Linked DNA regions of Homo sapiens: regions 2, 3, 4 and 5 are each linked to region 1. The links are contacts of gene promoters, found by promoter capture Hi-C in blood cells and fetal thymus (Javierre and others, 2016). All regions are on one chromosome and are shown on one strand. Each heading gives the region's core, a stretch centred on a gene start or on the middle of the fragment in contact. The rest is flanking DNA. Distances are from core to core; before and after follow the strand shown. Region 1 holds the start of PHF3 (PHD finger protein 3). Region 2 has its middle 48 kb from the start of LGSN. Region 3 overlaps LGSN (lengsin, lens protein with glutamine synthetase domain). Region 4 has its middle 4.0 kb from the start of LGSN. Region 5 has its middle 56 kb from the start of LGSN.

Region 1 (6,032 bases), core at 2,126-4,625:
ATATCCACTCTTCACTGTATAATAGTCATAAAATTTTAAAATACCATTAAAAATGGTCTAAATTAAGCACATTATGCAGGACAATAATTGTCAAGTCCACACATATAGCAATTCCTCATAAAACTCTTGATATTTTCCCCTTTAACTCTAATACACTGATTAACATCAGATGTCAATGAATCTTGTTTCCCAGACTATAATATCTTTACTGAGAATAGAAACAGCCTCAGGGTCTCATGTATGTTTAATCACATCAATACTCTCAATATCTTTCCATGTGTAATCAAAGGGCAACAATTAAAGAATATTTTTTGACTGTGTTCTCAAAAATGCAACAGTATCATAAATGTCTAACAGTTTGCCAAGCAATTTTTATAGTTGAAAAAGTGTCTATCCTTCTGAAAAGATACTCCAGAATTCTGAGAGAGTGCTCCAAGAAGAAATAAGAGAAACAGAGCCCAAGATGTACTTTTCCAGAAAAGAAAAAAATCCAGCAGCCACTTGTCAGAAAGAATTCTTGAAATGTGGATGAATAAAAACTGTTAGAAATCAGCACCCTAAGAATCCTGAACTCCTTGACACTGTGTGGTGAAATATGTATTGGTAATACACAAACCTAAATGTTGACCAAAAAATCTCATTATCTCACTAAAAAACAGAAAAGTTATTATCTCCAGAAAAAACATATGTAAAAAGGATTTTATGAGAAATTTAAATGGATCTTAAGAAGGCAAAATGTATCAAAAAAGCAAACACCATCCCACCATGTTAAGGAAGATAAACATCATCTATTTCAGTAACTGAAACACAGAATTGTATGTATAATTTTCATTCACCAGTTTTTCCAAGTAGGCCTTATACTATGAAAAAAATCTAAGCTCTTGATTTTGCAATACTCCAAATTGCCACTTGCTGCCTCCCAACTTTTATAAGTAATACATTACATAAGTCAAAGACTGTCAACTTTCCTAGTGGATTCCAATACTCAATAAAATTTAAATTTTAATAACATAGTTTGAAATGATTAAAGACAAATTCCTTTCGATTTTTCTATCTTGAAATGTGCATCTGACCAAACCAATTTTTTACCTACATTTACATAGACCACTTCTCAGAGGTGACTTTTCTGATTATGCAACATATAAGTATACCATAAGATCAACATGATAAAGTTATCTGAAGTCTATCCCAACAAGAGAGAATGCATAATTCACGTGTATGCAAAAGCAGTAAAATAAACTATATTTTTCTATTCTTCAATAAATGAACCTATAAAAAATGTAAATAAGAGGCAAACTTTGGTCCCATCACTGGCTCATTTTTATCATTTTGACAAATTACCGAGTACAGCTATCTGAAAAAGCTTAAAATCTAAAGTTGTAATCTTTTTACATAAAAGTAGCCCGTTTCGGGACTGATTGTGTGGCTCAATCAGAGGAATCATCACTCCTAAAAGTCTGCCACTAAACTCTGCTACTATCACCAGAAAATGAAGTATGTATTGTAAAATAATAATAACAGTGATAATGACGATGATGAAGGAAAGAATCATTATGGTAATATATAGCCAGTAAACAGATGAATGAAGAGAAAAATTAGTGGGGAAAAGGTCTAAGTGATAACTAAACTTTAAAATTACTATTTAAAATAACAATAATCTTTACACAACACCTTTTTGTGCTGTGGAAGGGAGCTATAAATTCAAAAACATAAGTATGCTACAATAGAAAAGTTTCTGGTGCTTTGACTCAACATGTCGCTCTAACACAAACATACATCTTTTTCTACAAATATTTTCACAGTTCCAAACACTTCATTCAGGAATCGAAAAATGAATAATGGAGGCGTAGTTTTGTTAGGCCTTTAACAATCATTTTGTCAAAGGGAAGACAAGTTCGACCCCAAAATAGTAACTAAATACAACAACGTACTGTTTAAGTACTCCCTACAGAGTTTACTGCATTGGTTTTTAAATTTAGCTTAAAATAAGATAGTAAAGTTAGTATTTAGAGAAGCCTCAATAATCGATTATTCTTTTTAAATTAAATATCGCTACATGTAATGCAGATTAGGACTAGAATATTAAAGCAGTGTTGCCACTTAACATTAATCCATGAACATATTCTACGCGTGACTACTGGAAAGCACTAATAACCACCCCAATCTAGTCTCTAGGAATTGGCATTTAAAAGCCCAAAGATGGAAAAAGGTCACCTAACCCGGCAACACATCCTGAGGGAAAGGAGGGACACAGGACTCCGTGCGCGATATCAACATTCTCTTCCTTTCTACTCTCCGCACCGCCCCCGCCCCCCGTGTCAGGTGATCAGTTATTTAGCACCATTAACACGTACGTATCGACAAGTGGTTCATTAAATTACATGTATTATCGGAAGGCAAGAGTCTAGGCTTCTCATTTCAAACTAAGCAAAAGGAGTCCACAGTTTGAGTCCCGGGCACAAAAGCGCGCGGTAACTGGAGGATAAATGGAAGAGCAACTCTCATCTCCAAAAAGCAGCAGCAGGGAGCAGCCTAGCAGCCAGGGCCAGTCCCAGTTTCCCGAAACCAAGGCCCAAAGCTCCATGCTGGGGCTCCCTGAGAAGGAAGAGGCCCCAACGGCCGGATCCGGGGGCCTGCGAGACGGGCCTTCCAGGCAGCGCCCGCCGTGCCTCGGGCCTGCGCGCCCGCGCCTCAGCGGCGGCGGGGCGCCCTCGCAGCAGACGGCTGGGTACCAGTGGTCGGGAGAGAGGCCGTGGTCCCGACCCTCCGCCTGGCGACCGCGTCGCTGCGACTCCCTCCCCAGCCCGCGGTCCAAATGGTCCACAGGCGCCAGCGGCGCGGCCCAGGTAGGCCGAGGACGTTGCGCAAGAGGCCCGAGAGGCGATCTCTCGGCTGCGCGGGAGAAAAGCGCGGAGAGTCCGCCGCGGGAGGGGCGGAGAGGCCCGCGGAGGCGCTGTGCGTGTGGAAGGGGATGGGGGAGGGGAGGATTGCCCGTCTCCCTGGCCGCGGCCACAGCCGCAACTCACCCAGCTCCGCCAGACGAGCGCTACCACTGGCAGCAAGAGGAAGATGGTGGACGCTGCCGCCGCCGAAGAGGAGGAGGAGGGGGCCCGGTGGGTGCCGCGGAGAGGGGGTACGCGCAGGACGTCGGCGTCGCTGCCACAGCCTCTTTTCCTCCTGGGACCAAATGGCTGCTGCTGACGACACTATTCTTGGCTTCCGCGCCGCCCTCCTAATCCTCGTTGCAGCCGCCGCCGCCCTGAGCCCGAAGGTCGCTTGCCGCGTGGGGACGGTGCGACGGCGCGAGACCCCGCAGCCATCGGCGTGCGGCGGCGGCGCGGGAGCTGGAGAGGGGCCGTGTCACGTGACCCCACTGTTTACCGTTCCGGGGGCCGCGGCCTGCGTCGCTGCCGCGCCTGCGCGCTTTAGGGCCTCGAGCGCCGCGCCTCCGTGGGGCCCCGGGCTGCAGCGCTTCCCGGCGTTGCCGCGCCCCTCCCTGTCTTCGGAGGACGCGGCACCGCCTGCGGGCTTCTAGCTCACACCTCCGCGCCGCCGGGAGGGGCGAATCAGAGGAGCGCTTTTTCTCGACCGTAGTAAGCACTAAGGCTTCACAGTTAATATAATATTGATGCGCAGCTCCCCAACCCCAGGTACTTTTTATTAATTGACTGTGAGTTCAAGAATGGTAGAATAGGATGGAGTAGATGAGCCCTCTGCCCAAATATCTGTGCTGGCTCGGCACAGCAGCCTTACCATTAACTACCTCCGTTACCCTCACCCTACATGGCTGATCTACCTCAGGACTCAAATTGCTACCTCCAAGAAACATTCTTGGTATCCAGTAAGCAGTCTTCAGAATGTGGTCCCAGGTTTCCCTGAGGGGTCGCCAAGACCTTTCAGTAGAGCCTCCATTCCTTTGCCAGGAGCATGTGTCTAAGGCCAAATTTTCTTCCCACCCTTCAACCAAAACAGCATATAGCAGCTGATTCAATGCAGAAACAGATAAGAGAATCCAGCCATCTTCTATTAAGCCAGACATTGAGGAAATCTGCAGAAATTTTAGATATCACCCTTTTATTAATTTGGAAAATATGCTTTTCATAAATACATTATTTGTGGTAACAAATATTGTGTAGAGGTCCAGAGACAAAAAAAGTTTGAGACCCACTGGTCTGCTTCCACAGACACTTGAGCTAACCCCTATCTCAGCCCTTAATAAGCGCTGTGAAGTAATTGTTGCTTGTCAGTCACTCCAACCAAAAGGAGCTACTTAGGGACAGGGTTTGTGGCTTTTATCTACAGGGACTATTACAGTATTCAGCCAGTACCTGCTGAGCACCTTACTGTGTGGTCTGCACTGTTCTAAAACCTTTACAGTACTTGTTGATTTAAGCTTTAGACCAACCGCAGCCCACATTGTAAGATTAGTGCAGGGTGGAAGAATAAGTCACAGGCATGTGGTGAAGATCTGTTCTTTCCTCTCTCTAGTCTTCTGATATTTTAAGCACTCTTAATAGCAAATGCTCTTCTACAAAGGAAGTTTGGGTTGTCCTGATTCCACTGGATTCTTAAGAGTTTCACCCCCTGTCTTGACTAATCAATCCCTCAAGACTTTGTTTTACAATCTTTTTGTAATGTGTTTTTGAGAAAGGAAAATAGAAATGAGTAATTTTTTTTTTTAATTCTCACTTGGGATGTCTGGGATGAATTATAAAAACAAGCCTAATGTTATTCTTACTCTTCTGGTGGATCTCAGTGTGACGTTTTAAAAGGGCGTTCAGAAAAAGTAAAATTATTGTTATAAACAAAATCCAACCCCGAAGGAATTCAACAGAGTAGAACTTGATGACGGAGACCACTAGCTGGAAAATCCCTTAGAAGGGCTGAGGAAAACTTACCTTCTCAGAGAAGTTTTAATAAATTTAAGATAAAACAAAATGGAGATTAAAAGAAAATGTAAGAATCATAAGACTGTCACATTTACAAAGCAAAGATTTCTGATCCTTAAAAAGTCAACAAGCTTGCCATAGGCATGATGTTTTGATTCTGTTATTTTGAACCAGCCAAGTGCCCAGATTCACATTTGTCCACTAATGGTCTTTGCTTTTTGCTTCCAGATGTAAACACGAACTGTTTATCTTATACCCAATTCATAGAAAGGTTAGTAGAAGAAAGAACCAGCATAATAATACTGGCAACAGCTATAACTGCACACAGGACTTATTGGAAGATCAGATTGTATCAGTAACATTGAAAACTCCAAATTAACTTGGGAAAATTAAATTTGGTAGGAAAACAAGACAGAGTAATTGATAATGACTAAAACTGACAGTGTATTTGTATTTAACTAAAAAATTATCAAAGAAGGAAAAGTGATAAAATTTGGATCTTGCAAAACATTGACCCAAGAAAACTGAGCCTGGCAGAGATTAAGACCATGGAAGACAGTAAACAATGTAGACACAAAAGTCAATTTTGATATGAAAAATGCTTGTCATCACTGAAACATTGGTCCCTACAGTAATCAGTAAACTAAATATGGAAAAAAAAAATTGGAAGAATTAACCCCTATGAGCAGAAAGTCAATAAAAATATTAAATTTATTTAATGAAGTTTTTTCTGGCAAACACTTTGTAGACATGTACTTTCGTGTTAATTTAGAATAGATTTAAATGTTTGTATGCTTAAACACAGAATCAAAACAGTGGGGTCAAAAGATCTCAAACTCAGCCGGGTGCGGTGGCTCACGCCTGTAATCCCAGCACTTTGAGAGGCCAAGGCGGGTGGATCACCTGAGGTCAGGAGTTTGAGACCAGCCTGGCCAACATAGTGAAACGCCGTCTCTACTAAAAATACAAAAATTAGCCAGGCATGGTGGCAGTCCCATGTAATCCTAGCTACTCTGGAGGCTGAGGCAGGAGAATGGCTTGAACCTGGGAGGTGGAGGTTGCAGTGACCCGAGATGGCACCACTGCATTCCAGCCCGGGCATCAGAGTGACAGAGACAAAAAACAAAATAACTCAAACTCATT
Region 2 (6,032 bases), core at 1,323-3,822, 360 kb after region 1:
CGCCTCCTCTGCCTGGGCTCCCACTTTGGCGGCACTTGAGGAGCCCTTCAGCCCGCCGCTGCACTGTGGGAGTCCCTTTCCGGGCTGGCCAAGGCCGGAGCCGGCTCCCTCAGCTTGCTGGGAGGTGTGGAGGGAGAGGCGCGGGCGGGAACCCGGGCTGCGCGCGGTGCTTGAGGGCCAGCGCGAGTTCTGGGTGGGAGTGGGCTCGGAGGACCCTGCACTCGGAGCGACCGATCGGCCGGGGTAGTGAGGGGCTTAGCACCTGGGCCAGCAGTTGCTGTGCTCAATTTCTTGCCTGGCCTTAGCTGCCTTGCCTCGGGGCAGGGCTCCGGATCTGCAGCCCACCATGCCCGAGCCTCCCCCTACTCCGTGGGCTCCTGTGCGGCCCCAGCCTCCCAGACGAGGGCCGCCCCCTGCTCCAAGGCGCCCAGTCCCATGGACCACCCAAGGGCTGAGGAGTGCCCGCTGGTGGCACAGGACTGGCAGGCAGCTCCACCTGCAGCCCCTGGTGCGGGATCCGCTGGGTGAAACCAGCTGGGCTCCTGAGTCTGGTGGGGACGTGGAGAACCTTTATATCTAGCTAAGGGATTGTAAATACACGAATCGGCACTTTGTATCTAGCTCAAGGTTTGTAAACACAGCAATCAGCACCCTGTGTCTAGCTCAGGGTTTGTGAATACACCAATCGACACTCTGGATCTAGTTACTCTGGTGGGGACTTGGAGAACCTTTGTGTGGACACTCTGTATCTAGCTAATCTGGTAGGGAGGTGGAGAACCTTTGTGTCTAGCTCAGGGATTGTAAATACACCAATTGGCACTCTGTATCTAGCTCAAGGTTTGTAAACACACCAATCAGCACCCTGTGTCTCGCTCAGGGTTTGTGAATGCACCAATTGGCACTCTGTATCTAGCTAATCTGGTGGGGAGGTGGAGAACCTTTGTGTCTAGCTCAGGGATTATAAACGCACCAGTCAGCGCCCTGTCAAAACAGACCACTGTGCTCTACCAATCATTAAGATGTGGGTGGGGCCAGATAAGAGAATAAAAGCAGGTTGCCTGAGGCAGCACTGGCAACCCGCTGGGGTCTCCCTCCACACCGTGGAAGGTTTGTTCCTTCGCTCTTTGCAATAAATCTTGCTGCCCTCACTCTTTGGGTCCACACTGCCTTTATGAGCTGTAACACTCACCGCGAAGGTCTGCAGCTTCACTTCTGAAGCCAACGAGACCACGAACCCACTGGGAGGAACGAACATCTCCAGACGTGCCACCTTAAGAGCTGTAACACTCACCGCGAAGGTCCGCAGCTTCACTCGTGAGACCACGAACCCACCAGAAGAAAGAAACTCCGAACATCAGAAGGAACCAAGTCCGGACACGCCGCCTTTAAGAACTGTTAACACTCACCGCGAGGGTCCGGGGCTTCATTCTTGAAGTCAGTGAGACCAAGAACCCACCAATTCCGGACACACCATGGTACAAGGACTCTGCCAATCAGATGCAGTCATAAAACATGGACTCCACTCTGCTGAGCTTGAGGGAGGCAGCAGCGACAGGCATCCATGGGTGCCATCCTGGGGTGGCATTGTGGGGGGGCATTGGTGGTGCTATTGCCAGTGCCAGTGGCTGTCGGGTCTCTGGAACAGTCAAGCCTGTTCTTCTGAACCTGATTTTCTGGCCCTCCGAGATTCTATTAAATATCTAATATTTTTTAAATAAATTTCTTTTTTTCTTAAAGTAGCTAGAATTTTTAAAAAGAAGCCTGACTGAAAAACAGTATATAAAAAGACACGCGAAGAGCAAGAAAACTTTGATAAAAGAGAAGAAGAAAGAAAGGCAGAGAATTACTCTTAATCAGAAGACTAGGAACAATTGAATGTTTATACTAGATACGGATTAAACAAAGGTTTATTAAGCTCTTAGTACATAACATACATCGTGTGGGCACTTTCTCATTCATTTCCTTATTTCATGCTGTCTACAATTTTATGAGAAAGGTAGACTTATTATTTTTAAAAACAAGAGATTTAAGACCCTAAAAAGTTGTTGTGTTGAACGAACTAGGAATCAAATCCAGGTTTCTACTTTCAGTCTCATGGTCTCTGTGCTACACCAGAATGCCCTTCACTACAGTCTCAGCTAAGTACAATACTGAAAATTTTGCTGAATATTACATTTTAGTTTTAAGGCTTCTAGGCATTAAAATGAACAGAAGTAGGTAGTAGATACATGCTTGATAACTCTATCCAGGCCAGAAGGTCTTATGACAAAGAAGTATGATGCCATAACATTATTTCAGAACTTTGGTCAGATAACAGTAATTCAAGCCTTAAGTAGTTTCTTAATTTGTTTGAACACAAAAAACACCTGGCTGAAATTTCTGACCATCCTTAGAATTTGAAATAGTGCCAATCAATTTATTTTGTTTCATTTTTAGAAATATTCTTTGACAAGAACTCTGCATTCATTGAGAGCATAAAAGAGTTGATACTTCTCTCTGGCTGCTTAAGAAATAAAAGATAAGAAAACACACTGATTTTTGAAAATAGCCAACCTATATGGAGGCGAAATGTGTAAATTAAGGGAAAAAGAAATTGGCTGAGAACCTGCTACACAATGACATAACAAAGGTTTTCTTGTCTCTTCAAGATGTTTCCTAAGATTAATAAGATCAGTTTTACCTGGAAAGAAAAATAACACTTTAATTAATAACTATAAAAATTTAATGTTTATAAAACTGCTAATATAGGATTCATTAAATACAAATGAATATCAATGTATTGGGCATATCCAAGAGACTACTGGATAAATTGTTACATTATAGAAAACTTTTCAAACATAAGCTAGAGGGCAGCAACGTACCATTAAACAGTGTTGGCTCAGAATTCAGAGCAAAGCTGAATATTAAACATAAAAGTAATTGGATTTTCAATCTAGTTACTTTGAATAAATGAAAATTGAAAAAATGTATTAGAAATACTAACAGCAGAAAGGCATTCCCAATCACATGACTTGCATTTGAATATTTTTAGGTTAATAGATATTAAATACAGGCTCAATATCAGAGGGGGGGGGAAAGGAGTGTTGACAGGATACGATATTACCAATATTTAAGGGTACATTCAAGAGACGTAGAAATATGAAACCATAGAAACATTAGCTGCATTCTGTAATGCCTAAAATTAATCTAAATGTCTTAAATTTTGGATGACTCTACAATAGATTTGAAATAAATAAGTCTGAAAAGAACTAAAGAAGAAATCTTTAATAAACTATGAAAAAAAGAAAATCCAGTAATTTGTTACTTATTTGGAGGTTCATTAAAATGAATCACATTATAAGAGCTTCTACAATATCTACAAATTAAATAAATGCTACAAAGTGTCTTCTTTCTGTGATCACTAGAAAACATATATATCAATTCACTTTTTATGAGGTAAACAGAAATGATACTTCAGTGTTTGAAGTGAAAAAGGATTGTTAGATAATGAATTGTTGTTTAAGTTAGACACTAGGTAGCATTTTTATTCAATTTTTGAAATAATTGCTTTTGAGAGCCATTTGTATGTAAGTTACGAAGGGGAAGATACAAAACTGGACAATACATGTTTTTCTCCCACAAAGAGCTTTTAACTTTAAGTGAGAGAACAAATGTTTCTAAATGTCTATGGATGGAGGATAGAATTTATGTGGTGAGGAGAGAACAAAACAGCATAGAGGAGGATGCCATTGATCAAGCAATGCGAAGTCTTGGGCTGGATCACAGACTTCTTTGGCTCCAACTACCTTTCTCACTGGATGGCAAGGGTTATAAGGTCCCATGTCCCCAGCACTTGAAGAAGGAAAAGAAATGTGGCTAGCAAAGGGCAGATACAACTAACTCTAATAGTGCTGTGTCCCGTGGCCACACTTCCTTAATTCCCTGACAAAGAACAGGCGTCTTATCTCAGACTTAGCACTTTTCTTCCTTCTCTTAACTTTCAGTGCAAGGGGTGCCTCTCATTGTTGGCAGGATCCCACCCCTGTGGCCTTCTCATGCGAGTACCCAATCTCTACTGTATCTCCAGTATGTTCCTCTCCTGGTGTTTCTTTCCCATCAGAATTTAAGCACATTGACATGGTTGCAAGGTGCATAATGCACACGCGCGCGCACATACACACACACATACACACGGAAAAAAATCTATTAATCCGAAGTACCCTTCTCACTTCTGTCCTTGTCTTTAAAATCAAATTTATTGATTAAGTTACATGTCCTTGCTCTTTCTACTTCCTCTATTTACTCCTCATAGCTTCCCATCACTGCCCCCAAATATTTTCGTTTCTACCTCCACCAGTCCCCTTCAACTGTTCTCACCAAGGTTAATCATAACCTTCCACTTGTTAAATACAGGGGACATTTCTCATTCATGTTTTATGACGAGTAAACAGAATTTGAAATTGCTGACCTCTACCTCTTTGTCAAAATGGTTTTCTTTTGACTTGAAAGGCACTAGAGGTTCTAGATGTTCTTTCTCTGGCCACTTCTCAGCTTTTCAATGTCTTGTGAATTCCTCTTTTCTGCCTGAAATTCGATGTTGAATATTATTCAAGATCCTTCCATTCTTGGTCCTTTCTTCCCTCTAAAAATTGTCTCCACAACATCTTATTTATTATTACTATTATTTTCCATGGATTAAGACATTTATTTATTTATTTGTTTATTTATTTATTTTTGAGACACAGTCTCATTCTGTCACCCAGGCTGACACGATCTTGGCTCACTGCAATCTCTGCCTCCCAGGTTCAAATGAATCTCCTGCCTCAGTCTACCAAGTAGCTGGGATGGCAGGCACGCACCACCATGCCTGGCTAATTTTTGTATTTTTAGTAGAGACAGGGTTTCATCATGTTGGCCAGTCTGGTCTTGAACTCCTGGCCTCAAGTGATCCACCCGCCTCAGCCTCCCAAAGTGCTGGGATTACAGGCATGAGCCACTGTGCCTGGCCAAGACTCTTGGTTTAAAGTAATGGAAATCAAACTGAACCTGATTAAACAAAATAAGGAATTTTTTTGGTTGAGATAGAAGAGTGCCTCATGGACTCTAAGACCTTCAATGTGTCTAGGTGTTAGGAATGAATCTAACCTGAAACTGAAGCACTGTAGATAACCCAGGACATCTTTTCTATCTGTTCTTACCTCTGTTGTGTTTCTCCTCATGCCAGCATCATCCTTTCACTCCTGCTTTAGACTGGCTTTCTCTGTTTCTTTCTCGACATGATGGCAAATGGCTGCTGAAACAACTTCCCAAATTTACATCTTTTATGTTGAACAAGCAACCTGTTTGAAGCTAGTCTATTCTAGTCCAAACTCTAAATTCATTAGTTTAATGTGGGCAATGCACTGACTCCTCATCCAGTGAACTGTGGCCTGGAAGGGACATGTCACATTGTGTGAACATGGCTTTTCTCTCTATTATAACACGGATGGGTCAGGCAAAGGAAGTCCTGGTGGGATGGCATAAAAACCCAATGATGCTGACAGTAAAGCCTATACCTTCAATTTTTACTTATAAGCGAATGATTGTCAAGTTAGTTTCTCAAAGTGTACATCCACTCAAATGTCCCACAGGTATTTCAAAGTCAACACATCGGTGTTTAATTTATCACCTCTTCCTCACTCTGTTGGCCTAAAAATCTACATATTGGTTCTTTACTATTTTTAGAGTCTTCACTGGCCTCCCTCTAGAAGAAGTCCCTTCTCACACCTGGTAATTAGTCATCTGCTGCCGCCTATTGTTTCAGGCTAGGAGGGCTAGTGAGACATGCAGTCTCTTCTCTTCACATGGTGAGGGCATCCTCGAGTTCCCTCTCTTCTGCCATCTCAGTGCTACTTCAATTCTTTCTGGCACTGTAGGTGTTCTAGCCTCAGTTGTGTCCTTTATCCAATGATGGACCTAGGAGGCCCGCTTGGCAGCTTGCTTCAGCTACAGCTTCACATCATTCCACATACTGTGGCACACAGCAGGCCTGCTGTCTGTCTCTCAATGTTCTT
Region 3 (6,032 bases), core at 2,004-4,503, 330 kb after region 1:
TGTAAGGGATACATTTCTAATCATTACCTCATTTACTCCAAGCCATAGAAAAAGGGAACTAACAAATGATGCCCATCTAGAAAGGTGAAGGCCTCTTGGCAATGTTTTATTTAACCTAGGATGTACGTTAAAAGAAGTGGACTGATGTTCTGTTTCTGACTGATTATGGAGTAACAAAGGTGTCATTAAAATTCCTAGCCTACACTGGCCCTTCATCTTGCATCCATCAAGAGATAAGGTTGCTCATGTATAAGGTTGTCTGTGAAATCTAACACAAATAAAAATATACTTCACACACATAGGCCCCTTTTCCCACTGTGTTGTTCCAAGAGGCATAAGCAAGGCAAAAGTTAAGAAAGGTTAAGAATCTCACGATGGAAGAGAAGTCTTGTTCCATGATCTTGGGAAAGCTTTCTATGTCTAGGATGCCATCTGCTTCAAGGGAGAAAGTTCTCTGGTTAGCTTTACCTTAAGGTCTCTAACAAGTGTTTGGTTTCAAGAGGCTGGATGGGCCAGACTCAAGGTTCAAGGTCCCAGTATTTTACTGCAGTGTGAGTGGCAAGGGAAGTCTTTCTCTGATGGTGTTTCCAGAAGGCCCAGTCTCTAAGTTTTAGACCATGAAGGGTTTGACTGTACCCAGTCAGTGGATCATAAAAAGCTCCTTTTACCTAATGAAAATACACTTTGGCACAATGCATTGAAGCCTGCATTGTAGCATTTAGTCATATAAGAATTTAGGTGCAGAAGATACATAAGGTTCTATTATTAGAGGCCTTACAGTGACTATTTCATAAATGGTCAACTCATGTTTTGATTGGAAGAGGAACTGATTGTTATCAGTCTGCAGTACCTTTGACCAAGACAATTCAGTCCATTCAGTTAGACTTGCCTAATGCTATTATAGCTGTAACACCTTATGTTTTACAACTTGTCCAGTGAAACAAGTACCTTTATTGTTGGAGATTTCTCTAGGAATGTTCCATGAGAGAAACACATTTCTTGATAACCGTTAAGCTATTTTAGCTATTGTTATTGCATTAGCCTTCTTGCATGAGAAAGCTTGTATATAACTAGAAAACATGCATTACAAATGACAATTGAATAGAAGCCATCTGTAAATGTTCAAATGGCCCATCAAGTAGCAAAAATGTACCTGAAGTTTTTTTTGTCTTCCTAGGATTATGGATTTGACAAAGCAAAATAAACCACTTTGGCAACTTAGAATAGTCATGACACCAGTATATTTTTAAAAATATAATTTGGATGCAATCTCGGCTCACTTCAACCTCTGCCTCCTGGGTTCAAGCGATTCTCCTGCCTCAGCTTCCCGAGTAGCTGGGATTACAGGTGTTCACCACCATGCCTGAATAATTTTTGCATTTTTAGTAGAGATGGGGGTCTCACTATATTGGCCAGGCTGGACTCGAACTCCTGACCTCGAGTGATCCACCTACCTCGGCATCCCAAAGTGCTGAGATTACAGGCGAAAGCCACCATGCCTGGCTGAGTGTAGAGCTTTCAATGATGGCAGTTTTAATTACTTGAGAAGGACCAGGCAGCTCTCCAGACTCTCCATGAGTCCACACTCGACAATGAATTCATATTATCTTAAATACAAATTTCGTTTCTTCAATTTAGGTGCATAGCACTGCTTATCAAATGGGTTATTGTAGGCAATTTGACTTGAACCATGAACCTCATTCAAATTGCATATTTTAACAACATCAGTACTGGCTGATCTAGCATGGAAATCTGCTAAAGTATTTCCTTGGTATTCAATTAGTTCTTGTGCTACTTAAGTTGGCAATTTTATAAACTGGTCAACTTCTTCATTAGAGCTTTTAGTATTCCTATCCCGTCCAAATGTATATCATTCTAGAGTTATCAGAAACCTGTGTTCAAGAGTGTTTATGAGCATTCTTTCAAACCTTTCCATGAACCTCCTTGAGGACACAACATTTTAGGATTTTACTTGATTGTAATGAGCTTTAAGAAAGTTCATCAGAATTAATAAACTGTGAATAAGACTTAAAATGGTTATGGTTAAAGATGCAATTGACAAGGAAATTTGGCTCTTTCTGTATCCTATAATAATTTAACATAAATAAACATAATTATTGCTGATAACATATACTAAGACATATCAGAATATTAGGAGTCACATATAATTTTGAAATACATATTCATAATATATTCATAAAATATAACTCAGAGAATGTTAAGTACCATTTATTTTATGATGCTTTCCATTTTATTTAACATATCAAATAAGCCTATTTATTGTCTCTTTTTTGGATGCTTCAGGGACCTTTTGGAACATCCTAAAGTTAGTTTGAAGGAAAAAAGAGTTAATTTTAGAATTTGAAATTTGATTTTAGGAAGCCTATCAAATATGCCAAAGGTTTTAAACACTATCAAAATAGAATCACAGATTACGGCAAAATAATAGTAATTAATTTAGCCTAACTGATAATTAAAAGGTTTTCAAAAGCAAAAATCCTTATTCGTTGATGAAGAGGAGATTCAGTTTTCCAAATAATCAAAAGACATAATAAAGACAGCACAAAACAAAATCTGTCTCTCCTCTATTTTTCTTTGCATTTTACTCAAAAGGTGGACGAACATCTTTCACTCTTATTAATACTACAATAAATTCTTATTCAAAGGAGAAAACAGAATTTTACTTTTTTCCCCTGTGAACTCTGCAGAGAATTATGAATTTTACTTTTGTGTTAGTATATAATCAATACTACTGCTAATTTTAAGAAAACCTTATAAACAAATACATTCACCTTCAATCAGCTTTTGAACACACAAGATTTCCATAATCCTTTTTATAGCCTCTTGCATTTTTTTCTATTTTCCCCCAACCTTGAATATCCATTTAATTTTATTTATATAATTTTTTCATTTTGAAAGAACCTTTAAATAACCTCTAAACTAGACAAAATTATTTTTTCTCAACAAATACACATTTTAATTTTCTCATCAAAAACAATCTTGCTTTTCTTGTACACTTTACATATAGAATTATTTATTTTATTGTATTTATTTTTTTTAAGACAGAGTCTCATTCTGTCACCCAGGCTGAAGTGCAGTGGCGCAATCTTGGCTCACTGCAACCTCCACCTCCCAGGTTCAAGCCATTCTCCTGCCTCAGTCTCCCTACTAACTGTGGTTACAGATGTGTGCCACAATGCCTGGCTAATTTTTGCATTTTTAGTAGAGATGGGGTTTCACTGTGTTGGCCAGGCTGGTCTCCAACTCCTGACCTCAAGTGATCCTCCCAGCTTGGCCTCCCAAAGTGCTAGGATTACAGGCATGAGACATCGTGGCCAGCTAAATTATTTACTTTAGTAGTTATAATTACATATATTAACTTAAATTTTAACTCTTAGTAATTCTAACTTCCAGTGTAAAACCTAGGAAGTTAATGATTTTGAAGTGTTTTATATCAGTATCTGCAGATAAAAACCATTTCATAATTGTTTAGAAAGATGTTTCCTCAATTATTTTTAATAGATCTAAATATATTTACATTTTCAATATCATATACAAATAAGATGCTAAGGCATAAATTTATGTTAATAATTAATACTTCAATATTTTAACTTCTTAGAAATGACTCAGATATTTAATGAGTATTTATTTCTGAATTTATTCTTATTTTTTATTTTTATTTTTTGAGATAGATCTTGCTTTGTCACCCAGATTGGAGTACAGTGGCATGATCTTGGCTCACTGCAATTTTTGCCTCCCATGCTCAAGTCATTCTCCCACCTCAGCCTCCCGAGTAGCTGGGACTACAGGCACACACCACCGTGCCTAGCTAATTTTTATATATTTTGTAGAGTTGCATCTCACCATGTTGCCTAGGCTGGTCTCAAATTCCTGGGGTCAAGTGATGCTCCCACCTCAGTCTCCCAAAGTGCTTGGATTATAGGAATGAGCCATTGCTCCTTTCCCTATTTCTGAATTTAACGCAGCTTTAAGATTTTAAGTTTCTGAAAATAATTTTGAAAAAATAACGTAGGTATTCTCCCTAATGTCCTGAGTGGCACCTAGGATGGCTAGGAAGGCCAGGGCCCATCTGGGTCCCTAATTTACACACCAGGTGTAGAGTCAAGGACTGAGGACAGAGCTATGAAAAGGATGTCTGGAGGATCCAACCCCTCTCAGCATGGCCAGCAGGCAAAGCTGGAGGAGGAAGGGCAGGGCCATAGTGGGCTTGGCTGTGTCCTGCTGCTAGTGGCCCAGGTACAGTGGACATACACGTCTCCAGGCCTCACCATGACCACCTCTCCAGGCCTCAGAATTCAAAGGCTCAAAATCAAAGATATAAGCTCACAGTAAGATGTGTGAAAGGCTTCAGGGGAACCCAGTAGCCAGCCTTTTCAGTGTCAGCTTACAGACAATCAAGCACGTATCAAAATTTGACAGAAGCAGCAATTTTATGACCCTAAAACATATAGCAAAAACAGCATAAACCTTTCTGACCAGTAGACCCAGAAAAAAAAGTCTGAATTATATTTAGTATTGACAATTCTGAAGACATTCCTATTTTATTTTGCCAACAATGTAAAAACTTGCTTCATTTGACAAATATTATATAAGATCAGAAAGAAATATCTGATACACATAACACTTACAGACATATAGACAGACACGGACAAGGGCAGAAGTTAAAATTTTCAGAAAAATTTTTCATTTACTAGTTTCCAAATAGTTTTTCTTTCCCCCAATTCAGACTATCAATATTCCAATTACCTGTTTCATTGTTCTAAGCAATTGTTAGCTAGAAAACCCTAAAATTTCACTTCTAAAAGGATGACTTTTAGGTAAAACAAGGTAGAAATTTTATCTCTCAAATGCATACAGCTGAGACTTTAGACCTAAATATTGTACCATCTTTTGCTCAAATCAAGGAGGGAGGATGTGGATAAATGCCCAGTTAAGACAGGATGGATAGGAAAAGGTACTTTAGAGGAGACTTGTTACATAAATGTAAGTCAATGATAAGAGTCTCTAGTAACTTAGTCTTTCCTCTCTTCCTGCTGCACAGAGGCAGACACCCTTAAAAATGGAGGTTTCCTTTATAGATGTAAATTTCCTTTACAGATATGTTTCAAAATAGCCAGCTAAATGCCAGAAAGGTGAATTTGGAGACCAATTTAGTTCAATAGGCAGTCTTTTTAAGTTAGCCACTATTTTTTAGCTAAAATTACTGAGTTCAGGTTGGAGCCCATTAATTAATAAGGCGAGGAAATAATTCTCTATGTGTGGACTCGGTATGGATAGCTCTGAAAAAGAAAAAAGCCTACTTTACTTGAGGGCCTACCTTTCATGAACACTTTATATAATTCTCTTTTTATCTTTGGGGCAGGATAGTAACTAAGCCAAAAGATTAGCAGATTCAATTTTTCTTATCAATTAGTTGCTTAAGCTTTTTGTTTGCCTTTTGAAAGGCTTTTAAAAGAGGCAATAGAAATATTAACATTTTTAAGAATGTTCTGCACATCAATAGGTGTCCCTGGATATGCCTAATTTGGGAGCCTTCATTTTTAAATGCAGTTCTTAAAGTGTGGTGTTGGTGTTGTTTATTTGGAGCATTCCACTATAATTTTAAATTATCTTTATAAGATTTTGCCATTTTTGTAAGTACTTGCAGCTTGTGGGACCTAATAATTATACATGTAGAGGTATGGGATAGACAAAAGTGGAGCACTCAGTTCATCAGAAATTAAGGATTCCATTTTTATATTGAAAATTGGTTTTGGCTCTCACATCTTGATCAACTAAGCCGAAGATTTTTCCCTACCTCATGCATTAGAAAAAGAAACAAAAGGGATAGAACACAAAATCCTGGTGAATTTCTGAAAGCCAGAGTTCACACCTTCTGCAGTATTGCCATTTACTGCCAGTTTGTCTAACCAGTCAGCCATCTAAGAATTCTAACTGGATATAATCCAATTAGTTATTGAGTCTAACCCAGTCCAGTGTCTGTCATGACTTCTGTACCCAGTTAAGATAAA
Region 4 (6,032 bases), core at 1,327-3,826, 310 kb after region 1:
GACAGCGTGCTGGCAGTCCTCACAGCCCTCGCTCGCTCTCGGCGCCTCCTCTGCCTGGGCTCCCACTTTGGTGGCACTTGAGGAGCCCTTTGGCCCACCGCTGCACTATGGGAGCCCCTTTCTGGGCTGGCCAAGGCCAGAGCCCGCTCCCTCAGCTTGCAGGGAGGTGTGGAGGGAGAGGCGTGAGTTGGAACTGGGGCTGCGCACGGCACTTGCGGGCCAGCTGGAGTTCTGGGTGGGCGTGGGCTTGGCAGGCCCTGCACTCAAAGCAGCCGGCAGGCGCTGCTGGCCCTGGGCAATGAGGGGCTTAGCACCCAGGCCAGCAGCTGCAGAGGGTGTACTGGGTCCCCTAGCAGTGCCAGCACACCAGCGCTGTGCTCGATTTCTTGCTGGGCCTTAGCTGCCTTCCTGTGGGGCCTGAGGGCTCAGGACCTGCAGCCCGCCATGCCTGAGCCTCCCACCTCCTCCGTGGGCTCCTGTGCGGCCCAAGCCTCCTCAACAAGCGCCACCCCCTGCTCCACAGTGCCCAGTCCCATCGACCACCCAAGGGCTGAGGAGTGCAGGTGCATGGCACGGGACTGGCAGGCAGCTCCATCTGCAGCCCTGGTGCAGAATCCACTGGGTGAAGCCAGCTGGGCTTCTGAGTCTGGTGGGGATGTGGAGAACCTTTATGTCTAGCTCAGGGATTGTAAATATACCAATCGGCACTCTGTATCTAGCTCAAGGTTTGTAAACACACCAATCAGCACCTTGTATCTAGCTCAGGGATTGTAAATATACCAGTCGGCACTGTATCTAGCTCAAGGTTTGTAACACACCAATCAGCACCTTGTGTCTAGCTCAGGGTTTGTGAACGCACCAATCGACACTCTGTATCTAGCTACTCTGGTGGGGCCTTGGAGAACCTTTGTGTGGACACTCTGTATCTAGCTAATCTGGTGGGGACGTGGAGAACCTTTGTGTCGAGCTCAGGGATTGTAGGGATTGTAAACCCACCAATCAGTGCCCTGTCAAAACAGACCACTCGGCTCTACCAATCAGCGGGATGTGGGTGGGGCCAGATAAGAGAATAAAAGCAGGCTGCCCAAGCCAGCAGTGGCAACCCACTCGGGTCCCCTTCCACACTGTGGAAGCTTTGTTCTTTCGCTCTTTGCAATAAATCTTGCTACTGCTCACTCTTTGGGTCCACACTGCTTTTATGAGCTGTAAAACTCACCGCAAAGGTCTGAAGCTTCACTCCTGAAGCCAGCGAGACCACGAACCCACCAGAAGGAAGAAACTCCGAACACATCTGAACATCAGAAGGAACAAACTCCAGATGCGCCACCTTAAAAGCTGTAACACTCACCGTGAGGGTCTGCGGCTTCATTTTTGAAGTCAGTGAGACCCAGAACCCACCAATTCCGGACACATTATTACTGATTCTACCTTGCTACTCATTATTGGTTTGTTCAGGTTTTCTATTTATTCCTTATTCAATCTTGGTAGGTTCTATGTTTCTAGGAATTTCTCCTTTTCCTCTAGATTTTCCAGTTTGTTAGTGTATAATTGTTTATAACAGTCTCTGATGATCTTTTGTATTTCTGTGATATCAGTTATGTCTCCTTTTCCATTTCTAATTTTGCTTATTTGGATCTTCTCTCTTCCTGGTTAGTCTAGCTAGGGATTTATTAATGTTGTTTATCTTTTCAAAGAACCAATGTGTTTGGTTGAACCTTTGTATTATTTTATTAGTTTCTATCTCATTGAGTTCTGCTCTGATATTTATTATTTCTTTCCTTGCACTAGTTTTGGGTTTGGTTTGTTCTTTTTGTTTGTTTGTTTTGTGTTTTTTAATCAAGTTCCTTAAGGTGCATCATTAGATTATATATTTGAAAATTTTCTCCTTTTTTTTTTTTTTTTTTTTGAGACAGAGTTTCACTCAGTCTTCTAGGCTGGAGTGCAGTGGTGTGATCTCAGCTCACTGCAACCTCTGCCTCCCAGGTTCAAGAGATCCTCCTGCCTGAGTCCCCTGAGTAGCTGGAACTATAGGCGCTCAACCACGCCCAGCTAATTTTTGTGTTTTTAGTAGGGACGGGGTTTCACCATGTTGGCCAGGATAGTCTTGATCTCCTGAATTTGTGATGTGACCGCCTCGGCCTCCCAGAGTGCTGGGATTACAGGCATGAGCCACCATGTGCAGCCTCCTGTTTTTTTTTTTTATGTAGGTGTTTATTGCTATCAACTTCCCTCTTAGCAGAGCTTTTGCTGTACCCCACACATTTTGGTATGTAGTTTTTCTATTTTCATTTGTTTCCAAAAAATTTTTTTTTATTTTCTTCTCAATTTCTTCATTGACCCAGTGACCATTCAGGAGCATGTTGTTTAATTTGCATGTATTTGTAGAGTTTCCAAAGTTCCTCTTGATGTTGATTTTTAGTTTTATTTAATTGGAGTCTGATAAAACACTTGATATAATTTTAATTTTTAAAAGTTTGTTTAGACTTGTTTTGTGTCCTAACATATAGTCTGTCCTGGAGAATATTCCATGTGCTCATGAAGACAATGTGTATTCTCAGTTGTTTTATAAAATTCATTTAATATCTTACACAATCACAGAACAGAGTTAAGAGAAACCTGAGATCATCTTGCCCTAAACCACATTTTGCACAAAAGGAAACTGTTATCAAGAAAACTATGTGATATGTCTTTAAAAAACAGTGTTTCCTATAGAACTCAAGTCTTTAATCTGCTGGTTGTTTCACTACAGCAGCAGTTCTGAAAGTATGGTTCAGGGACCCCTAGGGATTCCAAGAACCTTTGAGGAGACTGTGAGGTCAAAATTATTTTCACAGTAATGGTAAGACTCTATTTGCCTTTTCATTCTCATCTAGCATTAGTGTATAGTGAAGTTTTCCAGAGGTTGCATGACATGGGCTGTATCAAAAGAATAAATGCAAGCCGGAAGCGGTGGCTCACGCCTGTCATCCAGCACTTTGGGAGGCTGAGGCAGGTGGATCACCTGAGGTCAGGAGTTCCAGACCAGCCTGGCCAACATGGCGAAACCCTGTCTCTACTAAAAATACTAAAAGTTATCCAGGTGTGGTGGCGGGTGCCTGTAATCCCAGCTATCTGGGAGGCTGAGGCAGGAGAATTGCTTGAACCCGGGAGGCGGAGGTTGCAGTGAGCCCAGATCGCACCACTGCACTCCAGTCTGGGTGACAGAGCAGACTGTGTTTCAAAAAAAAAAAAAAAAAGAATGCAAAAACATACGAGATTCCAGTGGTTTTTCTCTTAAGCTAGACATTAGAGCAATTTGTGAAAATAAGAAATCAATTTTCTATAAAAAATGCTATTTATGTTAATATGTACAATGCCCATTATTATTATATTTTTAAATATGCTAATATTGATTAACATAACCTGTGTGTGTGTGTGTGTGTGTGTGTGTGTGTGTGTGTGTGTGTGTGTATATGAGGTTTTGGTGCTCTCAAGAATTTGTAGATATTATCACAATAAGTAGAATGATGCCATTAAAAGAAGGAAACAAGGACAACACCAGCTACCAATTTTTTAAAATTAATGGTGTTATAAAAATGTCTTCTGTGAATAGACAGTAGAGACTCAAAAGGGTGGAGTGGGATGAGTGATGAGAAATTACTTAACAGGTACAATGTATACTATTCCGGTGATGGCTACACTAAAAGCCAAGACTTCACCACTATGCACTATATTCATGTAACAAAACTGCACCTGGACTCCATAAATCTTACAAATAAAAAGAAATGTATTCTGTGGCACTCTCCTTCTAAAAATAGCTTGGGCTGTTTTGGAATAATTTTTAACTTATTATATGTGATTGCAAGCTCCTTATGTGCCTTGGAATTCAGAATTTCATGCTTCCACTTTCACAACTGACTTCATTTAACTTTATGAAGCTTGTGCTAAATATATAAATGCTTAAGGATATGTGAAAATCATTGAAAATGCTAAATTAAAATGATTTTAAACTAGTTTTAAATTGTATCAACTTTACAAAATAATTTTTTTCAGGGAGTTACGCTGTTTTCTACTCATTGCTTACTTAGGTTTATCGAAGGGGCAGATGAGAGGAGAAATTCCCTTTCTGAAACAAATGAAAAGGACACACAAAAATATTCTTCAGTTTCCCTGCCAATGTGTGTTTCCGCTCAGCCCTGAATTCACTGATTTTCTACCTGTCCTCACTCCAATATTTTTTAATCATCGGTTTTAAATCTTAATTCTGTAAACAGATCTACCATTTTCTTAGAAAATGAGGTATTTCTGGGAAGAACTGAAAAGAAATGGGGACTGGATTCATGAAAGGAACTTTTGGGGGCCTTTGTGAACAGGAGTTCTAGAACCACTAGGGAAGCTCAAATATTACTCCTTATAATTTTTGTATGATGTTATCTTCAATAAAGGGTGTCAATGTAGTCTTCCTGTTAGGTATGTCATAATTAGATGCATATAAAGGAGGAACAAACCCATGCAGCTTCTAGAACAACAACAAATCGGGAGAAAGGTAGGGTGGAAGTATCCTTCTGTCGTGGTTGTTATGTTCTTATGCTGACCTGAAACCATATTTTTGTGATTCATGAAGGTCATAAGAAAGATTATTTCCTTCACTGAACTTGGCTATTATTCTCACAAGTCAGTTATTCCCTTGGTCTCATTGGGCATGTTTTCACCCTATTTCCTTATCAGTTAGTGCTGGGAAGACAAGAACTTTGTATTTTATACACTGTACTGTAACATATAATATATGTAAACATGAAACAAAAACAGATTCATTGTGATTTCATTTTCTCCCACAGTGAAAGAATAGATTTAATCCTTTACCTAATTTGCATCCTTTGCTCTTCCAATCCTGTTCAATAATTCATCAGAAGGCAGTAACTTAGTGGTAAACAACATATTGTTTCCCCTTGTTGGTACTTAGTAAGCTTTAGCTTCTGCAATCTGTTCTCATGAAATGAATCCCATAATTCCTTTAATCATTTTAGTTACTCTTCTCTGGATCCATTCAATTAGATTACAACTTTTTGGCAGGAGAAGTACTTGAGTTGAACGGTCTTTCCATATGTTGTCTCAGAAGAGTGGTAAGAGAAAGACTTGTATCATTTACATTCATGGCTCAATGACTATATTCATTTTGACTAAGATAGCTTTCTGGATATAGTACAGATTGAACAAATGCTTGTGAATGAAAGTGTTTAATATGGACTTATTGACCATTTATTATTTTTCTAATCTATTTGTTAAGCCCTTTACTGACATTTGGTTTTTCCTTTGGAAAAACTGATTCTAAATAATGGTAATACTTTTAAAATATGTATCATGCTAATACCATAAATTAGGTTATACACCATATGTCCAACCAAGCTTTAGAACACTTTTTACAAAAATGGGCAAATCAAGGTTCAGGAAAGGATATTATAAAAAAATCATGGATACACATTGAGAAGAAGAGATTGTCAAAATAAGGTAAGGAAAAGAAGATGAAATGAATCAAATTGCATATTCAATAACAATAAAACTCCCAGGAGAAAATTTGGGTAAGTAGTACTATAAAGGAATGATTTTTTTAAAACATGTCCCAATATGTAACTGAACATGTAAACCAGCTTGGAGTTCTTTTCTTTGATATAGGAAAGGGAACATTTCTGAAACAAAAACGAAATTTTTCACAAAACATTTTTTTCCATAGCTCAATGGCACCTGTTTTGCATGGAGACAAGCACATGCAAGAAAAAGTTGTAAAAGTGGAAGCAAATGTGGTCTCAGAAGAGGATTGAGAAAAACTTAGGTAAGGCTCTGGTACAAGACATTGTGGGAATTAAACACCCTACTAGAGATCTGGGGGAAAGCACCAAGAGCAAGTCAAATACTAGGATAGGAGATAGAATCCCTTTTCTTGGGGAGGTTCAAGAGTCCAAAACAGCCATATTCAGGATGCAGTTTCAGGCTGGCATCAGCATCAGAACTAGGTCCAAATTCAAGATCTGGTTGTAGATCAGGCTACACAGAGC
Region 5 (6,032 bases), core at 1,392-3,891, 260 kb after region 1:
AGTTCTAAATCCAGTCCTTTAATTATCTTGCTTAAAATTCTTTATTGGCTCTTTGATACCCTCAGAATAAAGCAAACTGCTTAAACATGACTTACAAAGTAATTGCTATAGTTTGAATATTGTCCCCCAAATCACATGTTGAAATTGATTCCTAGTGTCAGAGGCGGGGACTGTGAGAGGTGTTGGGGTCATGGGGCATATCTCTCATGAATAGATTAATGCTCTGTCAGCATGGGGTGGGGTTGTGTGAGTTCTCACTCTTATTAGTTCCCAAAGAGTTGGTTATTCAAAAAGAGCCTGGCATCTCCCTCCTTTTTGTCTCTTGCCTCCTCTCTCACGTGTGATCTCTGTGCATGTGCCTTTCCGTTGCCTTCCCCATGAGTGGAAGTGGCCTGAAGCCAATGCTGGTGCCATGCTTCCTGTACAGTCTGCAGAACTATGAGCCAAATAAACCTATTTTCTTTATAAATTACTCAGCCTCAGATATTCCTTCATAGCAACACAAATAGAGTAAGACAGCCATTAATATCATGCCTATACCTGAGACAGTGGTATGCATTAAACATTACATCTGCCCCTACTTTTCTAGGTCATTATAATTTTGGGGGTGGGGTGGGAGAAGCATATGACTAGTGCTAACCAATAGGCTGTGGGTAGAAGTGATGTGTGTCACTTCTAGACTGAAGTATATAAAAGTCATTCAGATGTCTGTTCCCCTGCTGTGGTGATCAAGAAAGCCAGATGTTTCTATTGTTGCGGATATGAGATGTTGTCTCCATTACTCTAGATCCCTAAGCGTTTGTGTTCATTAGATGCTGCAGCTAAACTGAAATTCTTTCAGTTCCTTGGTCATGCTTACCTGTCATCCTTTGCAAATACTTTTCTCTTTCTAGATTGCTTTTCCATCTCTTCTTCAAGTGTCTCTTTTTCTTTTTTTTTTTTTTTTTCAAAAATCTGGTTTAATCTTCTACCTAGACCACTAAAACCTTTCTCCATATCAGCAATAAGGCTGTTTTTCTTTCTTGTTATTCATCCTTTTTCTTTTCTTTTTTTTTTTTTTTTTTTTTTGAGATGGAGTCTCTCTCTGTCGCCCAGGCTGGAGTGCAATGGCACGATCTCGGCTCACTGCGACCTCCACCTCCCGGGTTCAAGCGATTCTCCTGCCTCAGCCTCCTGAGTAGCTGGGACTAGAGGCGCACACCACCACGCCCTGATAATTTTTTGTATTTTTGGTAGAGATGGGGTTTCATCATGTTGGCCAGGCTGGTCTCAAACTCCTGACCTTAAGTGATCCTCCTGCCTCGGCTTCCCAAAGTGCTGGGATTACAGGTGTGAGCCACCGTGCCTGGCCCAAGTGTCTAACTCTTTTCTTCTCTTCTTGGTCAGAACATCACTTTCTCTGGGAAGCTTATTTTGATCTTCTAGGTTTACGTTAGGTGTTCTTTCTATAGAATTATCCTGCACTTATCACACCATGAGGTAATTAGTTTCCTGCTTCTTTATCCTTGCACTTCTTTGAAGGATTGAATGAACCAACTCCCCAGGGCTGAGTTTGGAGAGCTGGGGCAAAAGGTGGAGTGAGGGAGGCAGCATGGCAGCATCTGGAAAGCTGTGGAAAATTTGCCTTCAGGGCATGCAGTTGATGGTTACCAACCCCCATTCTATTGCCTGGTTGATTGTTAGACCTCTTACACCTTCTGGGTTGCTCTCTGCCTATTGGCTTGCCATAATTCATAAAGGATACGTTAGCGTCTATTGCCAAAGATTAAAAAAGCCAGCTGGTTTCAGAATACTAAGTGGCAAATGTTTACTATAAGTCAGATGAAGACAGGCTGTTCCCTTAGCAATATTTTGCTCTAAGTAAGAGGAAAATTAGTCTAAAATTAATTTAAGCTATAAATTATAATGTCAAAAAGAATCAGTGCATATCTATCTACTTCTTTTTGAGGTATCATTTGCACCTAAAGTAATTTTCTTAATATGGGAGCAGTCTGTTTAGATTAGAAAAGCACAAGCAAGGCACTTCAAATACTATATTTTTCTTTTGTTCTGCTTTGTTCTGGGTTTGGAAGCCTAGGAACACTCAGCTGAATTGTGTTTGGACAAGAATAGTGGCCACTTGTGAATGTAGACCATTGTTAAAATGCACTTTGTATGTTCTAGTAAAAGTTATTCACCCCAAAATCTTGTTTTAGCTAGCAAACTGACTCAATCTGAAAGTAGATGAGTTTTAAAAAGTCAAATAAAATACAATTTCCTATTTCCTTTTTTCATTTTAAGCCTATTCTCTGATGATTCCTTTCTCATATTTAAAATTCTACTGGGCTCAGGTAAGAGGCAGTCAGATAATTAAAAAAGAAGTTAAAGAGAAATGCAATAGGTGAATGTTTTCTAGAAGCTCAGAAAAGGCTGAGTGTATCCATTGCCATTTGTTTGAGTCTATTAGGGAGCTATAGTGCAGAATATTGAATCTGAGCATAGTGATTTTTCTAGATGTCAGCATCAGTAGACAGAGGGCTTGCTCTTCATCAAGGCAATCTTTACCCTTTGTAAGCTTGGCTCTGAATAAATAGAAAGTATTGATTAAGAAAAGTGAGGAAAGGGTATAATTTTGATGTTTCTTAGGTTTTAGATAGTACTCCTGGTGTTTATTATCTGCATTGCTCTCTGCTGTGAGCCCAGGGTGTTTCTTCAGAAACGTTCTGTGTTCTGCCCTTAATAAGCTTTTGGGTTAAGTAAAAAAGAAATAGAAAGCTTTTTCTCTGCCTTTGAAGAGTGTAGGAATGGTTAGAGAGACAAAACACAGAAAATGTAAGCGCAATTAGCAAGCATCGGGGGAACATGGGCAAAATAATCTGGTATGAAGTAAGGTCTGTGGAGTAAAGAATCATATATCGTGGAGAGAGCATAGCAGTGTGTTAGAACGGGTTTGGACTGCTTGGGTTTGATATCATTCAGTACTATTATATTTAATTTGTGACATTAAGAAAATTACTTAATCCCTAGGCAAAATAAAGATAATACAACATTCACTTCATTTGGTTCTAAGGACCAAACAAGATAATATGTAGAAAGTGATTATCATGATACCTACAACATAGTATATGCTCAAAAAACATTAGCAATTATTATCAATATCATAGGCAATATTTTTGATTAGGGAATTATCTCACTTAAAGGAAGTAATTTTCTACTCACTTCCTAACATGCTATCTTTCTCTCTTGTTTTTCTTATCTCATTTCCAAACTCAGCATTATCTTGACCCTTTAAAAAGTTTCTTAAAGTTGAGAAATAATAAAACCTATTATTAAAAATAATGTACCAGCCAAAGGCAAACTGCCTTAAATGCATTACTCTCTAATCTCTCCAACAACTAATAAAGTAGATGGTGAGTACAGACGAATATATACATATCCACATAAATAAGTGTTTTCATATTTTGCTTCATATATCAACCTAGGGAATCTGAATAAAAAATGTTTCCATTTATGATCCAGCTTTTCTTGCAATTTCAGTGCAAACTAGTAGTAATATTTGCCAAGAAAGATCATAATTGCTATATAATAATATAAATATAAATATATAGTAATAATAGCTAACACTTATACAATTGTTGTCAAGCACTCTTCTAATATATACATATATGTATGTGTAAGAATTAATTTAATACAATTACAGAAAGTCAAATTGATTATGAGGACCACCAATAATGTATTCTTTTGGCCACTCTATACTGCTTTTTATCAGCTCTGGATATATTTAACCCAATTTTAAAATTCTGGAATTCCTTAATTTCTAGAATTTGTATCTCTCAGTCAATGGTTAAAAAAGAAAATGATTAAAAAACAAAAACGGAATTAATTCTTGATAACATGTTTTCTTATTGCCCCGGAAAATCAACAATGACATCAATAACAATAGAGTCTTATAGCCTAAACAGAGTTCCCATGATAATTAGGAAACATTTGTGTCAAAATGTCAAACTGTCTTCCCAAGATCAGGTTTTCCTAACATGTTTATTATCAGCAACTTTTTTTTTTCTCTTTTCCAGTCACAATTTCCTTTTATTACAAGACTGTACTTGCACAGCAATATTTCCTTAAGCAAGAGATGGAGATGTTCAGGAGTAGCACATGTAATACCTGAGCTAGGTGTAGGTTTTGTTATCAGGGATACTGTGGAAGACAATAACGGAAAGGGGCCTCATGCCAAGGATGCAAGCAGCCTCTAGAAGCTGGGGAAGACAAGAAAAACCATTTTACTTTCCAGCCTCCCTGTGGATCCATTTTGAACTGACTTCCAAAACCATAAGACAACACTTTTGTCTTGTTTTAAGCCATTACATTTGTGTTAATTTGTTACAGTGGCAGTAGTAAACTAATGTTGATACTAAATGGGAGGATCATTGTTCAAATCTGGTCTTCAAATGTGTCTATTCCAACTAAAATGTGTTTATGATCCTAAGTGATGTATTTTGTTCATTTTAACATCTTGGGAATTGAGATGCATCTTAGAATCAATGACATCTTAGAATTGCTGCTGGTCAGATGGCAAAGGTGCTGTAGTGGCGTTACCCTTCTTTTTGGAACCTAGAAGCACTGTCAACAAAATTTGCAGAAGGAGTATCAACTATTTCAAAGAAAATGTCAGAAAAATATCATGGCGCTCTATTGAAACCATTTTGTTTTGAAATAATTGCCTACTTTCAGAAAAAAATGATGCAAATAATTTGCATCAAAGATAACATTTTGCCACATTTTGTTTTACCATTCTATCTGTATCTAAGTAATATATATTGGTGTTTTTTTTTCTGAATAATTTGAGAGTAAGTTTCGGGCATGCAGACACAATGCCCTTTACACCTAAATAATACTATACTTCAATGTGTATATTCTAAAAATAAGGTCATTTTCTAACATAACCATAGTACAGACATCAAAATTAGTCCATTAGCATTGATGAAATATTCTTATCTAGACATTCCAATTTTGTCAATTGTCCCATGGATGCCACTCCCCCGCCACCCCACCCTGGCCTTTTTTGAGACAGAGTCTCGCTCTGTCTGTTACCCAGGCTGGAGTGCAGTGGCCCCATCTTGGCTCACTGCAACCTCCAGCTCCTGGGTTCAAGCCATTCTCGTGCCTCAGCCTTCTGATTGTTTTGTAATTTTGGTAGAGACTGGGTTTCGCCACATTGGCCAGGCTGATCTCGAACCTCTGACCTCAATTGATCAGCCCGCCTTGGCCTCCCAGAGTGCTGGAATTACAGGCATGAGCCACCACTCCCTGCCCCACAGATGCCCTTTTTTAGCAAAAGAAATAATTCTCGTCAGGGTCACATGTTGTATTCAATTGTCTTGTCTCTTTAGTCTCCTTTAATCTGAAAAATTCTTCAATCTTTCCTTCTCTTTTATGACCTAACATTTCTTAAGATTACAGGCCAGTTATTTTGTAAACGTATCTTAATTTGAGTTTGTTCTGATGTTTCTTCATGATTAGATTCAGGTTATACTTTCTGTGGTGGAGGAGAAGCGGGTAAGGAAAATCACAGATATTTATTTTCAGTGTAGCATATTAGGAGTTACCTGATGATGTCATTTTGTCTTATCACTGATGTTAACTTTGATTACTGGGTTAACATGACGTCACCAGGTTCCTCCACACTGTAGTTACTATTTTTCCTTTGGTAATCAACATGTATCATGTAGGAAGAAACTCTGTGCTCACTTAAATATCTTTTTTCTTTTCATCATTTCTTAATTGAGCACTCTTCTAAACCATAGGAACAAAATGGCTGTGGAGGAGGTAAGGGAGGTGGTGAGTCACATGTGTTTGCAAGCTGCTTGCATTGGGAGTCAAAGGGATGTCAGCCAGCTTTACATAGTCTCAAGTAGCACCAATGGCTTTGGTTCTTTGATAGATTATTTTATGAAATGCTGTGTCACCAGTGCAGTTAATGTAACAGAGGATATTTTGTGGAAATAAATTAAAACATGAGACTGAGCCCAAAAGTTAGACTTGGATGTAAAAAA

Evidence for each region. The method cuts DNA at HindIII sites, captures the fragments that hold promoters and counts their contacts. A CHiCAGO score of 5 or more calls a contact.
Region 2: a fragment that was not itself captured here is called in contact with the fragment with the promoter of PHF3 in region 1 in 1 of 17 cell types (neutrophils); the score reaches 5.2 in neutrophils.
Region 3: a fragment that was not itself captured here is called in contact with the fragment with the promoter of PHF3 in region 1 in 1 of 17 cell types (monocytes); the score reaches 5.4 in monocytes.
Region 4: a fragment that was not itself captured here is called in contact with the fragment with the promoter of PHF3 in region 1 in 1 of 17 cell types (neutrophils); the score reaches 6.5 in neutrophils.
Region 5: a contact is called between a fragment that was not itself captured here and the fragment with the promoter of PHF3 in region 1, in 2 of 17 cell types (monocytes and M0 macrophages). The highest score is 6.5, in monocytes.

The regions. Positions count from the first base shown.
Region 1 is chr6:63,633,145-63,639,176 of GRCh38, reverse strand. It overlaps PHF3 (PHD finger protein 3), which reads right to left and starts at 3,375. Exons shown (of 16, transcript NM_001370348.2): 1 at 3,027-3,375. RefSeq lists silencers at 2,601-2,780, 3,221-3,580 and enhancers at 2,798-3,618, 4,150-4,687. The HindIII fragment of the contact is 3,030 bases long and covers 1,366-4,395 here.
Region 2 is chr6:63,269,412-63,275,443 of GRCh38, reverse strand. No RefSeq gene overlaps it. Among named protein-coding and RNA genes, the nearest start is that of LGSN, 48 kb to the left of the region's middle. RefSeq lists a silencer at 5,694-5,743. The HindIII fragment of the contact is 7,263 bases long and covers 1-6,032 here.
Region 3 is chr6:63,298,318-63,304,349 of GRCh38, reverse strand. The region is part of intron 1 of LGSN (lengsin, lens protein with glutamine synthetase domain); the gene reads left to right. Among named protein-coding and RNA genes, the nearest start is that of LGSN, 19 kb to the left of the region's middle. The HindIII fragment of the contact is 4,384 bases long and covers 1,062-5,445 here.
Region 4 is chr6:63,320,978-63,327,009 of GRCh38, reverse strand. It overlaps a transcript of LGSN not described here. Among named protein-coding and RNA genes, the nearest start is that of LGSN, 4.0 kb to the right of the region's middle. The HindIII fragment of the contact is 2,686 bases long and covers 1,234-3,919 here.
Region 5 is chr6:63,372,950-63,378,981 of GRCh38, reverse strand. It overlaps a transcript of LGSN not described here. Among named protein-coding and RNA genes, the nearest start is that of LGSN, 56 kb to the right of the region's middle. The HindIII fragment of the contact is 169 bases long and covers 2,557-2,725 here.